2 separate regions of the Homo sapiens genome follow, and region 2 is linked to region 1. The links are contacts of gene promoters, found by promoter capture Hi-C in human tissues and cell types (Jung and others, 2019). All regions are on one chromosome and are shown on one strand. The core of a region is centred on a gene start or on the middle of the fragment in contact, and the rest is flanking DNA. Distances in the headings are between cores, read along the strand shown. Region 1 holds the start of COX8C (cytochrome c oxidase subunit 8C). Region 2 overlaps BTBD7 (BTB domain containing 7).

The links. The method cuts DNA at HindIII sites, captures the fragments that hold promoters and counts their contacts. A contact is called where the count stands out against the background at its distance.
Region 2: a contact is called between a fragment that was not itself captured here and the fragment with the promoter of COX8C in region 1, in 2 of the 25 tissues and cell types used here (H1 embryonic stem cells and bladder).

The regions. Positions count from the first base shown.
Region 1 is chr14:93,343,808-93,348,719 of GRCh38, reverse strand. It overlaps COX8C (cytochrome c oxidase subunit 8C), which reads right to left and starts at 1,538. Exons shown (of 2, transcript NM_182971.3): 1 at 1,326-1,538; 2 at 364-692. The coding sequence starts at 1,451. The coding sequence ends at 600. It also overlaps a transcript of UNC79 not described here. RefSeq lists an enhancer at 4,447-4,912. The HindIII fragment of the contact is 7,905 bases long and covers 1-4,912 here.
Region 2 is chr14:93,284,667-93,289,567 of GRCh38, reverse strand. The region is part of intron 3 of BTBD7 (BTB domain containing 7); the gene reads left to right. Among named protein-coding and RNA genes, the nearest start is that of BTBD7, 46 kb to the left of the region's middle. The HindIII fragment of the contact is 3,624 bases long and covers 124-3,747 here.

The DNA.
Region 1 (4,912 bases), core at 289-2,788:
TGTATGATTCTTCAAACCTCACAGAAGACTAAGAGAAGATAATAAAATCATTAAAATAGGAGATGTACTCATTCTTCACATTCTGACGTGTAGTCATTTAAAGAGGCAAAGAAATGGTTGTACTTCTCACAGCAAATTGTGAAGTGTGGCATGGCAGTACTAATAGAACATAAAAACCATTTAGCTAAACTTATATTACCTCACAGCTACACATCTAATCTTTTAAGGGTGATGTCACTAGATACATTCACTCCCATATAGTAACAATGTCACTCCCTGAGTCACTAAGTCAGACCTTTCACAGCAGTTCTCGGTAAATTTTCATCAGCTTTCACGATGTTTAGAAAATAATCTGCACACATATTACCAAGCACGAATAAGTGTTTCCGTTTTATTTAACACTTAAGCAGAACATTTTTGACTATACATCTATATAATGCACAGTACTAAAAAAGTGCAAAATATTCATCATAAACATGAGGAAAGTGAATACCACAATGGTTGCATCAACTCAACTAGGCAATTTTGCTCGTTAACAAAAACACAGCTTTTTCTGAAAGTTTTTTGGACGTTAACAGCTGTTCAACATCATCTTCCATCTAATTCCTTCTGAACTGCTTCAGGTTGCCTAGCACATATGCAGCTGGTGTTAAGAAGGTCGTAAAAAACACCACAAGTCCAACAGCCATTTCCTGGAAGAGAAGATGACACGCGCTGCTGAGTATGGCTTCCTAGGCCAGTGACTTGCTGCCTAACAAAAAGTGCTTAAAAAAAACATTTTGAGCACCTAGACCGTTGTCCTAGAAACAGGCGCCTAGTGAAATCTAAAATGCTGAAAATCGATTCATGGATCACCTGATTTTTTTTTTTAATTCATTTTTCATCTAAGGGGTCTCCGGTTCCAACCTTCGCACTCTGGAACTTCGATGTGGCCCAGGATTTCCACCATTTTATCGAAAACGCTAGATCTTCGCAGTGCCGAGGACGTCCGAGGATGGTAAATCATTCCTCCGCGAAACCACAGCCCCGCCCCCGAGCCAGGTGCCGGTAAAGGGTAACAACGAAGGAGGCCCAATCCCCGCGCGTTCCTCAGGGTCCCGGGCTTTCCGCCCCTGTGCCCGACGACGGCATCCTCACCGCGACCCTCTCCCAGGAACCTCCCCCAAAGGCGACCAAGCCACAGGAACCTCCCCCAACGGCGACCAAGCCACAAGAGCCTCCCACGCGAGGCCTGCACGCCGTGTCCTCCCTTCTCCCCACCCGTCGGGGCGCCCCGCCAGGGCCACGCGCTTCCCGCCCACCATGATGGCTGGGCCTCAACTCACCGCGGCAGACAGGGGCCGCTGGCGCGGGGGCCCCGAGTGGGCGAAGCGGGGAGCGGGCTGCAGGCCGAGCAGGGCCAAGCGGCGGTAGTGGCGGCGGGCAGGACAGCGCCCACGCAGGAGAGGCATATCGCGTCAGGTGAGACAAAGCCAGGCGTGGACAGCACAGGTGAGGTGAGGCCAAGTAACGCAAGCTCCAGTGCTCGTGAGGCAGCTGGTTTGCGCAGGCGCCCCAGCCACGAGGGGGCGCTCTGCCCTCGCCCCCTACCCCACCCCTTCTGCCCAGCACCTCCTGCTCTGCCCCGCCTCTTCCGCTCACCACTCCTTTCTCTGTACTGCCCTTTCCACTCAGCAGTCCGTGCTTTGCCCCACCCCCTCTGCTTAGCACCACTTGCTCTGCACCACCCCTTCCACCCAGCACACCCCTGCTCTGCTCCACTCTCTTCAGTTCAGTACCCCCTGCTCTGCCCCGCCTTTTCCACTCAGGGCTCCCTGCAACCTCCCAGCCCTCATTCACCTCACTTTCCACCCACGTGTCCTATCCTCTCCTAAACTCTCCTGCCACCCTCCCCTGAGCCCCAACCCCACCTCACACTAAGTATCTCTTTTCTGCAGGGTAAGGTGAGGGACTTGGCACCCCTACTCCTTTCCTTTGTCTTCCTCTCTACCTATACTTTATATACCTCTTAACATGCCCTGGCATTGGCAGAGTTTATAGCACACTGTTTCTAATGCAAATTAAATCTTCCATAAAATGTCTATAGGTTAATTCTTAACACTGAAAACCAAGAACAAGTTTCTATAGTCGGCTGATGATATAAAAAATATTCATGGCAGGGTCAAATAGAGTGTTTGGACCCAGTAGAAACAGTGATGTAATTATCTGTCACTACGGCTAATTTTCTTATTTTTTTGTAGAGACAGGTCTCACTGTGTCACCCAGGCTGATCTCAAACTCCTGGGCTCAAGCCATCCTCTTGTCTCAGCCTCCCAAAGTACTGGGATTACAGGCATGAGGCACTGTGCCCAGACCCTCTTGAGGGAAAAGTAAATATACTGTGATTTTTAAATTTAGTACTGTAATAAAACTTTATCCACTACAATGATCCTGTGTCTTCACATTATTTCTTTTGGGGGCCTATTGCACGAGTAACACTCTAGGGTTTCTCTGGATTCCTCTGTTCCTGCAGCCTGGTATCTTCCTCTTTCTTAGATTTCTTTTCGTTTTGCTGTAGTACATCCTTAAGCTGTTCTTTCAGGAAGGGTTTGTAGGTGATAAAGTTCCTCAGTCCTTGGAAATCAAAATATATATATATTGGTCTCCATTTAAATGCTAATTTGAATGGTTATAGAACTCTGGGCTCAAAATCATTGTCCTTCAGAGATTTTCAAAAGGCATTGTTCCTTTCTTTTCCAGCATCTAGTGAGCCGATAAATATAATGCCAATATAGTTGTCATTCCTTTGAGTACCCTCTTTTTTCCTTTTGGGAATCTTTTAGGCATTCCTTTTTGTCTTTGGAATTGTGACGTTCCTCCAGGATACTGTTAGATATGGGTATTTTTCCATTCATATGGATTAGCAGTGGGTAAGACCTTTCTATCTGAAGTCATGGTTCTTTAGCCATAGGAGCACTATTCCTATTTATTTGCTTCTCTGTTTTCTTTGTTCTCAACCTAAAATTCTTATTGACGGACACTGGCCCTTCTTAGCGGGTCACCTCTGTCTTTCAACCTTTTTCTCACTCATCAACGTTTTGTCCCTTGTTCTACATTTTGCAGGATTTCCTTGACTTTTTCTTCTAGCCCATGATTTTTTATTTTAGAATTATAGTTTTAAAACATACTATTTTTTGCTTTTACAGTCACCTGTTAGTATTTTATAGATATTATCACTTTAGATTTCTTTCAGAATATTAATCTGAACTTTTAAAAAGTTATCTCTATTCCATGAACTGTGTTTCTTTAGCGTACATTCTATTTATTTATTTTGAACTTGCCAGTTTTATTCAAGTATCTTATGATCCTTGGTTGTCATTTCATGCTTATGAATATGAAGAAGCAGGTCAGTTACTTTTGTTCCTTTCTGTTACTGTCTCAGTCTGTTCAGGCTGTTACAATACAACAGACTGGATGGCTTATAAATGACGGAAATGTATTTCTTACAGTTCTGGATGCTAGAAATTCAAAATCAATGTGCTGGTAGATTTGATGTCCAGTGAGGGCCCACTTCCTTGTTCTGGTTGTGTCCTCGTATGATGGAAGCAACAAGGTAGCTCTCTAGGGCCTCTTTTATAAGGGTACTAATCCTATTCATGAGGGCTGTGGTATGATCTAATTACTTCCCAAAGGCCCCGCCTCCTAACTCTGGGGCATGTTTCACCATGTTGCCCAGGCTGGTCTTGAACTCCTGGCCTCAAGCAATCCACCTGCCTCGGCCTCCCAAAATGTTAGGATTACAGGAGTTAACCATCATGCCCAGCCCATGTTACATTTCCACTGGGCAACTGTGCTCTGGAATCTTACCCTAACCAATCAAGGACCTGCATGAACCATGGCTGGCCACCTCCCTAACCTCATCTCCTTGTTCTCAGTCTTCCCTTGGCTCATCCTGCCCAGTCACATCAGGTAAACTCTAATTTTGCCTTAGATATCCCCAGATAATAATTTGAGCACCTGTGATTTACACGAGTCCTGTAAGAAATGATTTAGTGCAACATTGCTCTGTTTCCTGGCCACAGTTGTTACACTACTTGACTCAAATATTGGACCAAAGAGAGGGCTGGGACCCAGTCTGTTGGTTGGGATGGATGTTGTAACTTGGGAGCCATGTTTTTTTTTCCCTGCCTAGCAAGAAAGCCCTTCCACAGTGAGTTAATAATGTAGCCAAGCTGCTCAAAGAACCAGAGATAAGAACCAGAGGGAATATCCTGCCTGTGTTCAAAGCCCTGGTTTGAATTCTCCCTATTCTGAAGTTAGGACACTTTCCTCTCCTTGAGTTCTGGGCCTCTCTTTATATACTTTATGATAAATCCTGCTTTGGGCTTAAACTAGGTGGTGCTGCATTTCTATTGCTAACAACAAAAGAGCTTTAAGAAAGACGATATTAGTCAAGACTTTTTTCTTTGGGTAATACCCCATTTTTAATTTTTAAAAAGCAACAAAAATTCTGAAGTAAAGTGAGAAAGAGCCCAATAATAGGCAAGCTTGACTGGTTTAATCCTAATCTTGAGAAGTTTAGAAGAGAGTGCAATTCAAGTGAGATTTAAGCATTTTAGGTCTTTCTCTGTAACAAAAGCCTTAAAACACTTTCGACAGTGGTGACTCCAAATTCAGCCACAACACAATTAAGCTCCCTGCCACCCACCCCCACCCCAGGAGACAGCTCTTTTAGCTGCTCAAATTACCAATACAAACAACATTCCTCAGTTTAATTTCTGCAAGTCACAAAAGACTAGCACTGTTAACTCAAACCTCTACAATTTTCAATAAAGGGTTTAGTGGGCTGGGATTCGATGTATTCTCAGTGACCCACAATGCAAGAACTTCCTTCTGCAGTTATATAAAAGAACTTAATTAGAGCTATAACCTA
Region 2 (4,901 bases), core at 686-3,185, 60 kb after region 1:
GTTGAAATTTTTGGAAAATGGAAAGCAGATAGAGACTTGATTACTGGCTTAACAGAGGAGCAGCCTGTAATTAGATGCTGTAAAGGGGGCTACTGAGGAGAAGTGAGGCAGTTCACCTGTTAGAGCTCTGGCGTGGCTCAGGCCAGGTGGAACTAAGTACTCTGGAAAGAAGGGATATGCATAGCATAGAACTAAAAAGACAGAGTTGATTTTAAGTCTGAATACTGAGGGATCAGACCCTTTCCCCAACCCTGGAATTCATCTTTATGTATGGTATTAGAAAAGGATGTGGTTTTGTTCTTCTGCATATAGTGAGCCAAGTATTCCCTACTAATTCCCTATTCCTGATTTGTGCCACTCTTAAAGCTGCTATGTATGCATGGATTGTATTCATGCATCAGTACTCAGTCTCCATTTTGTCCCAGTGGTCCATTTGTCTGTTCTTGCATTACTATCACTTGCAACAAGGTGACATGCCCTTGTCCCCGCCCCCTCAATTCGCCTCTCTGCTACTGCCCCCACAACAAAACACAGGAGACCTGAGATTTTCTAAAATTTTCTGAATTTTCTAAAGAAATTAGAGAGATTCCAAATCTGGAAATAGCAACAGAGGAGGGTAGGGATGTGGCACAGGGTTGAAATCTATAATTATGTGAAACCCTATGGTGAAATCACCTACTTCCTTAACCCCTGCTGTAATACCAGCCAGGCAAATACAAGAAGAAACTGGAGTCCTGGAAATGGTGAACAGCTCAAAAGTATATACACTTACAGATACTGATGTTTTGGGTTTCCACAGTGAAATTACACTCAGGGGTTATAAAATGAAAAAGCCAGCTTGCCTTCCATTTGTTTTACAGAGGAGACTACAGTCATCAGGCCTGCCTGTGCAGCAGAGCTTTCAAACAGCTGCTTACTGCCTCAATCTTAAATATGAAAACCCATCCAAGGATAACTGGACATTTGAGGAAAGCTTCCAAATTGAGACAGAGATCAGAGCAAAAAGAACAAAGTCCTGGAGGAAGCAGACAATGAAGGGAGCAGAAGAAAACTTCAGTAGAATCAAAATATCCTTATATAAAAGAACTTTTTATGGAATCAGTGAGACATAAGCAGGATGCTATTAAAGTAAAAACAGGAGCTTTTAGAAATAAGATAGCAGAAATGAAAGATATAATGGAAGCATTGAAAGGTACAGTTGAGGAAATCTAGAAAGTAAATAATATAATAAAGAGATGAGTGGAGACAAATAAAACTAGAGTATTCATCCAGGGTCTAACATCTAACAAATAGTGGCTTTAGAAATATATACCAGAGAAAAGTGAAGAGAAGACAGTATCTAAGGAGTAATATAAGAAATATTTCCAAAACTAAAGGAATTTCTATATAAAAAGTTTCTTTTTCAGAACACTGGGGAAAAAGAGACAATTTTAAAATGTTGCAGGGAGGAGAAAAATTAGGTTCCATGCAAAGAAATAGGAATCAGATGGTATTGAGATTTTCAGTAGCAACAACTGAATACCACAATACAGTGAAGTAGTGTCTTCCAAAAGCTGATGGAAAATTATTTTAAACACAAAATCCTATATTTAGCCAAACAGTCAATCAAGTGTAAGGCTAAATAAAGGCATTTTTCAGTCATACCTCGAAAAACTGCCTGTGTAGGGATATTTCCCCTGCTTCCCCACTCAGGCAGCTGCTGGGAATGTATTCCACCAAATGACGAAGCAAACCAAGAACAAAGAAGTGAAGGATCTAGAAAATGGGCTCCAACACGGGAAGGAAGCAAAGGGAGATCCCACGCATCAGCCACACAGTAGGTCTTGTGGGCATTCAGTCTAGCCCAGACCGGGAGGGTGAAAGTCTCCAAGGAAAGAGGTGTCTCGGAAGAAATCAATTACTTTCAATGTTTGAACATTAAATAGCAAATGACAAAGCAATTTTATGGCTCTTGTGGTGCATTTATGAAGAATTAGCAATAAGTTCTTAGAAAATGAAGCAAATGGAAAAAGAAGAAATGAATATTTCCAAGATAAATTTAACAGTACATATGAAAGAATAAATAATTTTAGTACACAGCATGGCTCAGCAGTAAGCACTATTTAATTATAAACACTAAATATTGATTTAATAAAAATAGTAATATAGAGAGGTAAATACTAGAAGAAAGAGCTAAAGAATTGAGAGTAGTTACCTCTGGGGAGCAGAACTGAAAGTGGAAGGGATGTAGGACGGGGTGGGGGGGCGGGGGGGTTTAGGGTTAGCATTGTGTTACTACCAGACTTTTTAAATGATGAGCATATACTACTTTGATTACAAGGTTAACTTTTTTTTTTTTTGAGACAGAGTCTCGCTCTGTCGCCCAGGCTAGAGTGCAATGGCCCAATCTTGGCTCATTGCAACCTCTGCCTCCCAGGTTCAAGCGATTCTCCTGCCTCAGCCTCACAAGTAGCTGGGATTACAGGTGCCTGCCACCATGCCCGGCTAATTTTTTGTGTTTTTAGTAGAGACGGGGATCTGCTCTGTTGGCCAGGCTGGTCTCAAACTCCTGACCTCAGGTGATCCACCCGCCTCAGTGCTGGTATTACAGGCATGAGCCACCATGCCTGGCCCAGAATTAACTTTTTAAATGTAAAGATATGACATCAGTGCCCATAAGAACCAGAGAGACCAAGAGAAGGCCACAATCCTAAAGAACTGGAGACTTTATCATATCTTTGAAGTCTGTTAACTAATGAGCTCATGCTTATAATTTGAATGTACAGAGGGCTGTTACTTATCTCCATTGGTCATCCTGTCAGCCGATGAATGTGGTGAGGCTCAGAGATTATTAACTAGCCTTTTCCCAGGTTTGGAAGTCACGAAGCTGTAACTCATACCAGCTCTTCTGACTCTAGGCTCAGGAATTTGGGCATGGTAGGAGAAGGGAGAAATACTGGACCCAATTTCCAGGGATGAGGGTGGGAGGCTGTGGCCTACTCTTAGGAACAAAACAGAAAACTATAGTGATTGAAACATCAACTTGTAGGAGCCTCAGCTGTGAGCCCGATTTGTGGCTGAACAACAAATCATTACCCCCGACTTGGGTTGAGGGTAATGTGGGCTCAGCTAGGAGGTTTAAAGCTGTAGGGTCAGGGATCTGAGTAGCTCACTCAAACTTTGCTTCAGAGCACTTAGCCAGAGAACAGGGGCTTTGTACTGTTTCAGCCATTGTTTCCTGAATAGGTAGCATTCCTATGTTAGTCATTTGACTTTTCTGGCTGCCCAGCATTAGGACCTTCTTCCCAGCCTTACTGTGTATGTCTTCATAGGAGGCAGAGCCCACCTCCCAGTAGAAAAGCCTTAAAGGTCATATACTTTCTTCTGCAGCCTTCTCTAGTCAGGGTTAGTGGTACAGAAAAGCAGGGACTATAGAGAATTTTTTCTGGAAGCAGAGTGGGGCAGCAACATCTAGTGGAAAAGGAGAGAAGGCCATGGCAGTGGTGCCATTGATGACATTCACTATCCAGGGACAGAATGTAGGAGCTTTAGTGGCCAGGGTCCCAGGCAACTCAGGGTCTTCACTGGGCTTCCATGTTGTGGAGTCCCCATCCTGCAGCCTTCCTTAGTCCATGTTTACTGAGCTGGGTCTCCAGCTTTTCCCAGCAACACTGTAGATTAATAGTGTCCTTTGAGATAAATTCCTTTTCTCTTTAAGCCAACTAGACTTGTTTTCTGCTATTGCACCATAAGAAGCCTGATTGGTAGCAGTACCTATATTTAAAAGACTAGTATTTAAAACTCCAAAAGAGATGACTAGATTGGAAGAGTCTCCAAAGAAGGAGCACATGTTTGATCACTTTGACTTTTCATAATGACCTTAGCATATATACTGGGTAAACAGCTCTGAAAATGTGAGAACAGTAAGAGTATACCATTCATTGGTAATTTTTTGAGGAAAAGTTCATTGTTTAGGAGAACTATAGGTTAACTCATGAACTTTAACCATCCTTGTCATAAATACTGTTGACCTCAGAGCAAAATACCCCAGAATTAGCACCAACATCTACATGCATATTTACTGTAGACTTCAAACTGCAGATTTTGTTTTTTCATCTTGATCACAAATGCATTTTTCAATCTTTACAATATGAAATTTATTTATAACTTTAGTTCCAAAATGGACTCTGTAATGCATTTGCCCATATTTTTAGTCGTAATGGATGTGATTATATTTTATTGAATTAAAAATCTAACAGAAGCAACTGAAAGCAATGACCTCGTTTTTTCCCTTAGCAACTTGGTCACTTTCCAAGAGTGTGTGGCTTGAAACAAATGCAAAATAGCAAAGACTTACTGTCCCCACTCACTCATCCATTTCACCCTCTTCCCAACCTCCACTGTCTACATATTGACACTCTTCCCTCTGTCTCAGTTCTGTTGAGTTGACAGTTTATTTTACTTCTGTCTATAATTGTCTCCTCTTCAGCAAATTTGAATGTACTTCCTAGAGAAGAATGGGGCCAAGCTAAAGACCATTATCAACAGATCAGAGTAGTAAATGCAGGTTTCAAACATGCAACATAAGAGTTAATCTCAGTTTCATATTTATATATATGTTTATATATAAAACATAAAAAGTTTATATATATAATATTGCATCTTTTGTTTTAAAACTTAAGTCATTTTTCATAGACTACAAACTCTTCACCTCTGACCCTCTGCTCTCACTTTTCATTTGTCTGGGGGGTATTTTGCCTTTGATCATTAAATGTCCAAATTCTACCCTAACCTTTAAGACCGAACTCACATGCTTACTTTCCTTGTTTTGCTTAGCCATTCCAAGTTAAAAGTATTTTCTACATCCTGAGAATTTCTAAAACACTTTTTATTGTTCTTAGGGTTTTATATCTTCTGACTTG